Regions from separate parts of the Homo sapiens genome. Here region 2 is linked to region 1. Evidence: promoter capture Hi-C in 16 types of primary human blood cells and fetal thymus (Javierre and others, 2016). All regions are on one chromosome and are shown on one strand. The core of a region is centred on a gene start or on the middle of the fragment in contact, and the rest is flanking DNA. Distances in the headings are between cores, read along the strand shown. Region 1 has its middle 11 kb from the start of OXT. Region 2 holds the start of LZTS3 (leucine zipper tumor suppressor family member 3).

Evidence for each region. Contacts are between HindIII fragments. The CHiCAGO score rates a contact against its expected background, and 5 or more counts as called.
Region 2: a contact is called between the fragment with the promoter of LZTS3 here and a fragment that was not itself captured in region 1, in 2 of 17 cell types (naive CD4 T cells and naive CD8 T cells). The highest score is 6.0, in naive CD4 T cells.

The regions. Positions count from the first base shown.
Region 1 is chr20:3,058,343-3,063,243 of GRCh38, forward strand. No RefSeq gene overlaps it. Among named protein-coding and RNA genes, the nearest start is that of OXT, 11 kb to the right of the region's middle. RefSeq lists enhancers at 773-1,274, 1,275-1,774. The HindIII fragment of the contact is 3,419 bases long and covers 168-3,586 here.
Region 2 is chr20:3,171,028-3,175,928 of GRCh38, forward strand. It overlaps LZTS3 (leucine zipper tumor suppressor family member 3), which reads right to left and starts at 2,522. Exons shown (of 5, transcript NM_001365618.1): 1 at 2,428-2,522. It overlaps LOC107985414 (a long non-coding RNA gene), which reads left to right and starts at 2,663. Exons shown (of 2, transcript XR_001754477.2): 1 at 2,663-3,163. RefSeq lists a silencer at 2,406-2,745. The HindIII fragment of the contact is 3,672 bases long and covers 448-4,119 here.

The sequences.
Region 1 (4,901 bases), core at 627-3,126:
GAAGTGCTGCCAGCTTTGAGGGGCATTTAGGGCAAGAGAAGACAGCTTAAGAGATCCAGTTGCAAGGCAGGCCACTCTGTACTTTGGGCCTTATGATCCAGTAGATCCAGTAGAACTGGTACTCAAGATGTCCACAGTTAACCAGAATGCTATGTGGACCTGTAGTAAGCTTCAGTGGATACTCACATCAGAAGTCCCTTGGGTTTGTTTTTTGTTTTTTGTTGTTGTTGTTTGTTTGTTTTCCTTTTTTATGTTGAGACGGAGTATCATTCTGTCACCCAGGCTGGAGTGCAGTGGAGTGATCTCGGCTCACTGCAACCTCCGCCTCCCAGGCTCAAGCAATTCTCCTGCCTCAGCCTCCTGAGTAGATGGAACTACAGGTGTGCACCACCACACCTGGCTAATTTTTGTATTTTTAGTAGAGAGGGGTTTCACCATGTTGGCCAGGCTAGTCTCGAACTCCTGACCTCAGGTGATCCTCCCACCTCGGCCTCCCAAAGTGCTGGGATTACAAGTGTGAGAAAATATATACTTTTTTTGTTTGTTTGTTTGTTTGAGACAGAGTTTTGCTCTTGTCACCCAGACTGGAGTGCAGTGACATGATCTCGGCTCACTGCAACCTCCATCTCCTAGGTTCAAGCAATTCTCCTGCCTCAGCCTCCCAAGTAGCTGGGATTACAGACGCCCACCACCATGCCCAGCTAATTTTTGTATTTTTAGTGGAGGGTTTCAACATGTTGGCCAGGCTAGTCTTGAACTCCTGGCCTCAAGTGATCCGCCCACCTTGGCCTCTCAAAGTGCTGGGATTACAGGCGTGGGCCACCGTGCCCGGCTGAGTATACTCTATTTTTATTTGTCAATTATACCTCAATAAAGCTGGGGGAAAAAAACTGAAAAAATACTGGTCATGAATTATTTTTCTTTGGTGGGGCTACCATTCTCTCCCACTCCACTGGCTGTGTGGAAATAGCCCACACATCGGTTGCAGGTGCAGAGGACATCTGAGGACAGGCTCGCCCTGCCCACCACCATTGCCACTGGTGCCCGAGCATGCCTTCCAGGGCCTGGGGATCAATCCATCCTATCTGCCACTGCCAGTGCCCATGCACACCATCTGGGGGGCTGAAAACAGGCCTGCCCTGCCCTTCACCACCACCATTGCTGCCAGCACCTGTGCACATCATCCAGGGGCCTGAGATTCAATCTGCCCAGCCCACCACCATCACCACCCGTGTGCACCATCCAGGGGCCTAAGGGTCCCACCCTACCTACTGATGTCAATGCTAGTACCCATGCATGTCATCCAGGGGTCTGGGGGTTGACCTGCACTGTCAGCACACATGCACGCCTTCCAGGGACCTGAGGATGGGCTCACCCCACCTACTGCTGCCGTCCATGTGTACTGTCCAGAGACCTAGGGATTGATCCACCCACTTCACTGCCACTGGTGTGCATGCCACACATGCACACTGTCCAGGAGCCCAAGGACAGGTCCACCTTGCCTACCACTGATTCCTGTGTGCATCTCCCAGAGGCCCAGGCACTGGCCCACCCAGCCTGCTGCTGCCAGTCAGTACCAGCACGCCACCCAGGGGCCTGGGGACTGGCCCAAACAGATTGCTGTTACCACCACCCTGTCCAAAAAAAAAAAAGACCCAATTGTATGCTGCCTATCAGAAATTCACTTCACCCGTAAAGACACACATAGACTGAAAATGAATAGATGAAAAAAAAATTCCATGCAATTCCATAAAATTGGGGAAAAAATGACTGTTATAAGTGACTGATATCCTGCATGCTTTTATTTATTTATTTATTTATTTTTTGAGACGGAGTTTCGTTCTTGTTGCCCAAGCTGGAGTGCAATGGTGCGATCTTGGCTTACTGCAACCTCTGCCTCCTGGGATTACAGGCACCCGCCACCACACCCAGCTAATTTTTGTATTTTTAGTAGAGACGGGGTTTCACCATGTTGGCCAGGCTGTACTTGAACTCCTGACCTCAGGTGATCTGCCTGCCTCTGCCTCCCAAAGTGCTGGGATTACAGGTGTGAGCCACCACACCGGCCTTGCATGCTTTCAGTTTCCAATCATTTGGAAGCCAAAATTATTGGAACAGTCATTAATAGCCTACTATATAACAACAAATGCCTACATCAAAAAAAGTAGGAAGACTTCAAGTAAACAACCTCATGATGCTCCTCAAGGAGCTAGAAAAGCAAGAATAAACCAAACCCAAAGGAAAGAAACATAAAGATCAGAGCAGAACTAAACAGAATAGAGACTAAAAAAGGGAAACAAAGGGTCAATGAAATAAAAACTTGTTTTTTAAAAAATATAAACAAAATCCACAAACCTGTGCTTGGTGTGTGAGAAAAAAAAAAAAAAAATCAATAAGCCACTACCAGGACTAACCTAGAAAAAAAGAGAGAAGACCCAAATAAAATTAGAAATGAGAAAGGAGACATACAACTGATATCACAGAAATACAAGGGATCATTAGAAACTATTATGAACAACTATACACTAACAAATTGGAAACCCTAGAGGATATCTATGAATTCCTGGACACAAACAACCTACCAAGATTGAACCAGGAAAAAAATAGAAAACCTGAAGAGATCAATGATGAGTAACCACATTGAATCAATAATTAAAAGTCTCTCAACAGAGAAAAGCTCAGGACCAGATGGCTTTACTGTGGAATTCTACCAATTTATAAAGAACTAACACCCATTCTTCTCAAACTATTCCTAAAAATTGAAGAGAATTTTTTTCTAACTCATTCTATGAGGCCAGCGTTACCCAGACACCAAAACCAGACTAGGACACACACAACAACAAAAGAAAACTACAGGCCAATATACCTGATAAACATAGATGCAAAAATCCTCAACAAAATACAGTTGATCCTTGAAGAATGTGGAGGCTATGGATGCCAAAACCCTGCACACTAGAAAATTCACATATAACGTTTGACCCCCCCAAAACTTAATTACTAATAATTAAGTGAAAGGCCTTTACAATGAAAACTATAAGACACTGATAAAAAAAAATTGAAGTCCGGGCGCCGTGGCTCACACCTGTAATCCCAGCACTTTGGGAGGCTGAGGCGGGTGGATCACAAGGTCAGAAGTTCGAGACCAGCCTGGCCAAGATGGTGAAACCCCATCTCTACTAAAATAAATAAAAAATTAGCCGGGCGTGGTGGCAGGCGCCTGTAGTCCCAGCTACTCCGGAGGCTGAGGCAGGAGAATTCCTTGAACCTGGGAGGCGGAGGTTGCAGTGAGCCGAGATCGTGCCACTGCACTCTAGCCTGGGCGACAGAGCAAGACTCCATCTCAAAAAAAAAAAAAAAAAGAAAAAAAATTGAAAAGGATACAAACAAATGGAAAGGCATCCCATGCTCATGGATTGGAAGAGTATTGTTAAATGACTGTACTACTCAAAGCAATCCACAGATTCAGTGCAATCCCTATCAAAATACCAATGACATTCTTCACAGAAATAGAAAAAACAATCTGAAAATTTGTATGGAACCACAAAAGATACTTAATAGCCAAAGCAATAATGAGCAAAAAGAACAAAGCTTAGAGGTACCACACCACCTGACTTCAAAATTTACTACAAAGGTGTAGTAATCAAAACAGCAGGCTATTGGTATAAAAATAGACACAGACCAATAGAACAGACTGGAGAATCCAGAAATAAATCCATGTGTTTACAGTCAACTGATTTTTGACAAAGGCATCATGAACAAACACTGGGGAAAGAACATCCTCTTTAATAAATGATGCTGGGAAAACAGGATATCCATAGGTAGAAGAATAAAACTAGACCCCTATCTCTCACAATGTACAAAACTCAACTCAAAATGGCTTAAAGACAAACATAAGACCTGAAACTATAAATCTACTAGAAGAAAACATAGGGAAAACACTTCAGGACGTTGGTCCAGGTAAAGATTTTATGGCTAAGACTTCAAAAGCACAGTCAACAACAACAACAACAACAAAATAGACAAATGGGAATACAGTCAACTAAAAAGCTTCTGAACAGCAAAGGAAGCAATCAACAGAAACAACCTGTAGAACAGGAGGAAATCTTTACAAACCATTCATCTGACAAGGGGCTAATATTCAGAATATACAAGGAATTCAAACAACTCAGCAGCAAAAACATAAACAATCCCAGTAAAAAGTGGGCAAAGGGCTGGGCGCGGTGGCTCACGCCTGTAATCCCAGCACTTTGGGAGGCCGAGGTGGGCGGATCATAAGGTCAGGAATTTGAGACCAGCCTGGCCAATAGGGTGAAACCCCGTCTCTACTAAAAATACAAAAAATTAGCCGGGCCTGGTGGTGTGCGCTTGTAATCCCAGCTACTCGGGAGGCTGAGGCAGGAGAATTGCTTGAACCTGGGAGGCAGAGGTTGCAGTGAGCCAAGATCATGCCTTTGCACTCCAGCCTGGGTGACAAAGCGAGACTGTCTCAAAAAAAAAAAAAAAAAAAAAAAAGTGGCCAAAGGATCTGAATAGATATCTCAAAAGAAGACACGCATGCTTGAGCCTAGAAGTTGGAGGTTATAGTGAGCTATGATCGTGCCACTGTACTCCAGCCTGGGCAACAAAGTGAGACTCTGTCTCTAAAAAATAAAATAAAAGGCCGGGCACAGTGGCTCACACCTATAATCCCAGCACTTTGGGAGGCCAAGGCGGGCAGATCACAAGATCAGGAGATGGAGACCATCCTGGCTAACACGGTGAAACCCCATCTCTACTAAAAAATACAAAAAAAATTAGCCAGTCGTGGTGGCAGGCGTCTGTAGTCCCAGCTACTCAGGAGGCTGGGGCAGGAGAATGGCGTGAACCCGGGAGGCGGAGCTTGCAGTGAGCCAAGATTGGGC
Region 2 (4,901 bases), core at 1,272-3,771, 110 kb after region 1:
AGCAAGGTGACTGCACCAGATACCTGGATCTGGGCAGGAATAAACCTCAACAGTGATCATGTTGACCTTGAGTGACAGGGTATAATGTTTGGGAAGGTGCTTTGTAAACTATAAGGGGCAATACAAACATGTAGTACACCTTCTCTGAGATCCGGGAAAGGACAACCTGAGCATAGGTTGGGGCTGGTCATAGGCCACTCTCCCCTACTGTTTCTCTAGAGTGTGTGTAGTCCCTAGCAAGTCTCAGATGCCTCGAGTCGTGGATGGAAACAAGGTCCCAGGACCATTGTCCTGAGCCTCCTTTCTCCGTGCTCTACCTGGGGAATGCTTGACTATCAACCCACAGAAGCTCTCTCTGGAGCCTCACTGCCTAAAGAGCTTCTTGTCGTAATTGTAACCTGTCATGGTTAACCCCTTGCAAGCATGCCCTGCCCCTTGTCTCTCCCAAGCTTTGGCTGCTGCAGCTTCTTTCCACAAAATCCCAGCAGATAGCCGGGCGTCGTGGTGCGTGTCTGTAATCCCAGCTACTCGGGAGGCTGAGGCATGAGAATCGCTTGAACCCAGGAGGTGGAGGTTGCAGTGATATTGCGCCACTGCACTCCAGCAGCCTGGGCAACGGAGTGAGATACCCCCTCAAAAAAAAAAAAAAAAAAATCCCAGCAGGACACCGGCAGGACAAGGAAGGGGATGTTTCCCTGGTAAGCAGGAACTGAACTGAGAGGAAAGGTCACGGTCCTGAACTAGTCCAGGTAACTGAGCATGGTCTGCAAAGGCAGCCTCCTGGCATCAGTGCACCACCCTGAGATGACAGCCTGTTGCCTGACTGCCTCGATCTCTGTCACCTCAGCCCTCAGTGCCTGGGGCATTATACACAGTATTAGCGTCATGAGGGGGCCAAACGGACTCTACCTGACAGTTACATGTACAGGTACCTCCAACCCACCCCTCAACCTGTGTCTCTCCCAAAGCTAGGAACACTTGGGGTCTCAGAGGCCCCAACCCCAGCCCATTCTATCTCCTAAAAATCTCTAGCCAGCCCCTCCATCCAGCACCCCTGCTGGGGGCTCCTCAATGGACTTTCTTCTCCTGCACTCCCTCCCCCAGGCAGCTGCCAGGGGATTCCTTCTAAAGGGCAAAGCTGATCTTGCCCCTGCTCTGTCCAAATCCTTCCATGAGCAAGACCAAGTGCAGTAGACAGAGTTCTGGCAGCATCAGCTCCAAGTGTAAATCCCAGCTTGACTGATTAGGGGTGCAACCTCATGCAGGTTATTTCACCTCGGGTTCTCACACCTACATTGCAGGCATTTTAAGAAGTAAATGTATGATGGGTGAAATGCCTGGTATTCCTCTTGGTCCCCAGAACCAGAGCAGAGCTTGCAGCAGGGTCCCCAAGGACTCTCCTGATGCCCCTCCTCTATCTACCCTGACCTGAGCCCCTCTCTACTTCACACACAAGCTCTTGCCAGCTCTCTGTGCCCATCCTACATGCTTCTAGACCAGTTCAAAGGCTGGCCTCAGGACAGCATCCCTGATCTCCACCCCCCAGAGGGGGCATCTTGGAGCACTTGGCTGAGGACACCCCAGGGAGATTTCACTCTGAGGCCTCCCCAGGGCTGGCCTATAGGTTTCCCAGGAGCACAGAGGGCAGAGTCCTGGGGGTCTCTGGGCCCTGCACCAAGGAAATGCAGGGCAAATGCCTGTGGGAATGCTAGTTATGGGCAATGCAAAGAGGCAGTGAATCCGGGCAGGGAGAGCAGGAGGGGTTTCCAGGAAGCAGGACTGAGGGAGGAAAGGGATCTGGGGGCACTGCAGGGCTTTTGGGGTGCAGAGATATCCAGAACTTCTTGGTTGGGATGAGTGAGGGGAGATCCGTCTTCCCTCGGTGGCCTAAGCACTGGCAGCGGAATGGGCCCATCACCTAGCTACTGGCTCTGATGAAGCCAGTGTTTCAGGACTGAGGGGGCCGAGAGCGCCCCCTCCACCCCGAGCACACACACGCGCGCACACACGAGCTTCTGCTGGGGGTGGGAGGGGGGGTCGCCATTCACCAGCAGCCCACGGCCCGCAGAGCCAACTGATAGAGACCCCAGCCACAGGCCACAGGACCTGGGAGTCCCTGCGATGGGGGAAACCCCGCCCGCACCTCCCCAGGCTCCCCACCAACGCGTGTGGCCCCGGGGGGCGGGGCGCAGAGGGAAGAGGTGACATAATCCGAGCCGCACCCCCTCTGGCCGCCACCTCCCCCCAGGCCGGGCGAAGCATCCATGACATCATCCGCCTCCTCTCCGCTCCCCTCCCCCTTGGGACCCTAGCAGCGGGACGCGCCCCCTACCCAGTCCGGGTCAGGTCAGACATGCCGCGCAGTGCAGCAGGCACGGCGGCAGGTCGGAGCCGGGAGGGATGCCACGATGGGCCTGCCTCACTTACTCGCTGCCTCAGGGTCCGGCGCGGGGTCTCCGACACGGGCGCCACCGGCCCCGCTTGCTGGCGCAGCCCGAAGCACGCCCGGCGGGGCGCGCTGCGCGGGCCCGGCTCCGCTCCGCGCCCCTCCTGCTCCCCGCCCGAGCCCCGCCCACCAGCGGCTGCGGCAAACGCGAGCCCGCCCTCCGGCCACGCCCCCCAGGGCAGCCAATGCCCGGGCTGGGGCGGGGTGAGGCGCCTTAACCCCTTCGTCGCTGCGCCCCGCCCGCGCGTGGGACCCCTCAGCCTCACCCTCTCTAGGGCGCAGCAAGTCCGCCGCGAGCCCCTCTGCTCATCGCTCGTTACCCCCCAGGCCCTTGGGCTTGGGCTCAGGCCCAGTCGTTCCTCTGCAACAAATCCAATGGAACCGCGCCCTCCCTGAATCCCACGTCTAGGAAGAGGAGGAGGAGCCCCTCTTGCTTGGGGGAAGGGGCTCCCGACTCGGAGCCCCGAGCCCCATTCCTCTCCCGCGCCAGCTCTTCGGGACGCGGCCTCCCAGCGGACGCCCTGAGACCTTGCAAGTCCGCTAGGGAGGGGTCGGGACGAGCCGTCGCGGGTGGATCCGCCCGGCCGAGCAACGACCCGCCCGGGCGCGAGGACCACGGGCTGTCGTGCGGGAGGCGTCGAGGGGCAGTAAACTCCGTTCGTGACCAAACGGAGACGATTTGAAACTTGCTGCTCACACTGGATCACCGTCTGGAAGGTGCGACGGGGAAAAAATACACATTACACTCCAGCAGGATTGAACGCTTTCACCCTGTGCCCCGCGCCTGGCGTAACGCGTGGCCCCAGACCACACGCTGTAACCCGGGGTGAGAGGGAGTGAGGTGGGACTTCGTACCGGACCCGGAGCGCCGGCCTCGCCCGCGCGGGCAGCGTTCACTGTGGGGAGTGCTCACTCAGCCTAGGGCGGCCCGGGAGGACTGCCGGGAGGAGGGAGTCGGCCTTGAATTGAGGCCTCAGCCTTGAATAGGGTAGGGAGGCAAGCCTAGCCGAGAGTTTAGCACTAGCAAAAGCCTGGAGGCACCAGGGTCTGCCCTAAGAACTGCAGCGCCTCTGCTCTGGCTGGGATTTAACGCATTACGTCTCTGCTGTTTATAGGTGTTGTGTTTGGTCTTACGACTTCGTATTCTATAGTTTTTATTTATTCCTGTTTTCTGAATTTTCCCACATTTGCTTTTATCTTCTATCGTGATTTTCAAGGCAGAAAGTATTTTTAATTCTTCTCGCGGCTGCCTTTAGATTTATCAAATGAAAATAGTTTACATTTCACACATTAGTAAAGTCAGTGACAAATAATTCGTTTTTATATTCCCCCATGAGAAATTTTGTGTGCTTTTCTGCCTCCTACCTGCCGCCCTCACTACTTATATTTGTCCACTTAATCAGGACGACAGACCTAACTTTTGTTTACACTTTTTTTTTAAGCCACAACATTCTTTTTCAATCCTTGTTTTTGGCTTTTGCCAACTCTGTTTAATTGGTTTCAATGTTACTGCCGGTTTTTTGTGCTCTAATTTTTCTATTCCTCATTTGGACCCATCTCTCACATGACTGGTGATTTCAGGGAGGACTCTGGAATGTTGTATTTCCTAAGCCTTTGCCTTAGGTGAGAATGCCTTTATAATGATTTCCTGTTTATAGGATTCTTGAGTCTCAAGCTTTCCCCCTCAAAACTCTTGTCTTTATTTCATTGTCTTCTGGCACTGAAAATGCAAAGCTGGGTTTGTCTGTTTAAGGTCAGCAGTTTGCTTGGTGCTTGCAAGGGTTTTTCTTTACCCTCAAAAGTCAAACATTTTGCCAGTATAAATCAATATGGGCCTTATCTATTAATTTTCCAGAAACAAAAGAGGTCTTCTTTGTAGCTTAGAAAAGTTTTCTTCCTGTCCATTCTGTGAAAAGATTTGGGTTTTTTTCTTTCCTCTCCTCTAAAACTATCACATTGGATCACCAATGTCAAATAAATCTGTTTGTTTTCTCTGCACCCTGGGAGACTATATCAAGTTTTTCTTCACCATTACGGATTTAATTTTCTTCAGAGCCAAGAGTACTGTTTATTTTCTCCAATAAGACATTTGATTCTGCTTGTTTTATTTTTCTTTCAGCCAATTTCCATTCCACCTCTGTCTTGATCTCAACTTAATCTCTCTTTGTAGTCTCCATTCCTATTTCATAGACTAATGTGGTTTTGCATCTTTAAAAGAACACCAGGAAAATAAGAGAATACTATCTATATCTGACTCTGGTCCAATGCATATGAAAACTTTTTTGTTTTTTTGAGACAGAGTCTCACTTAAAATTTACACAAACTCTAGCATAGTGTGTAACTATTGAATGAATAACTAATGCAATCCCCTTCCTTTCTTTCAGAGCAACTATGAACTAGACTTTTTTTTTTTTTTTTTTTTTTTTTTTTTCTGAAATGGAGTCTCCCTCTGGAA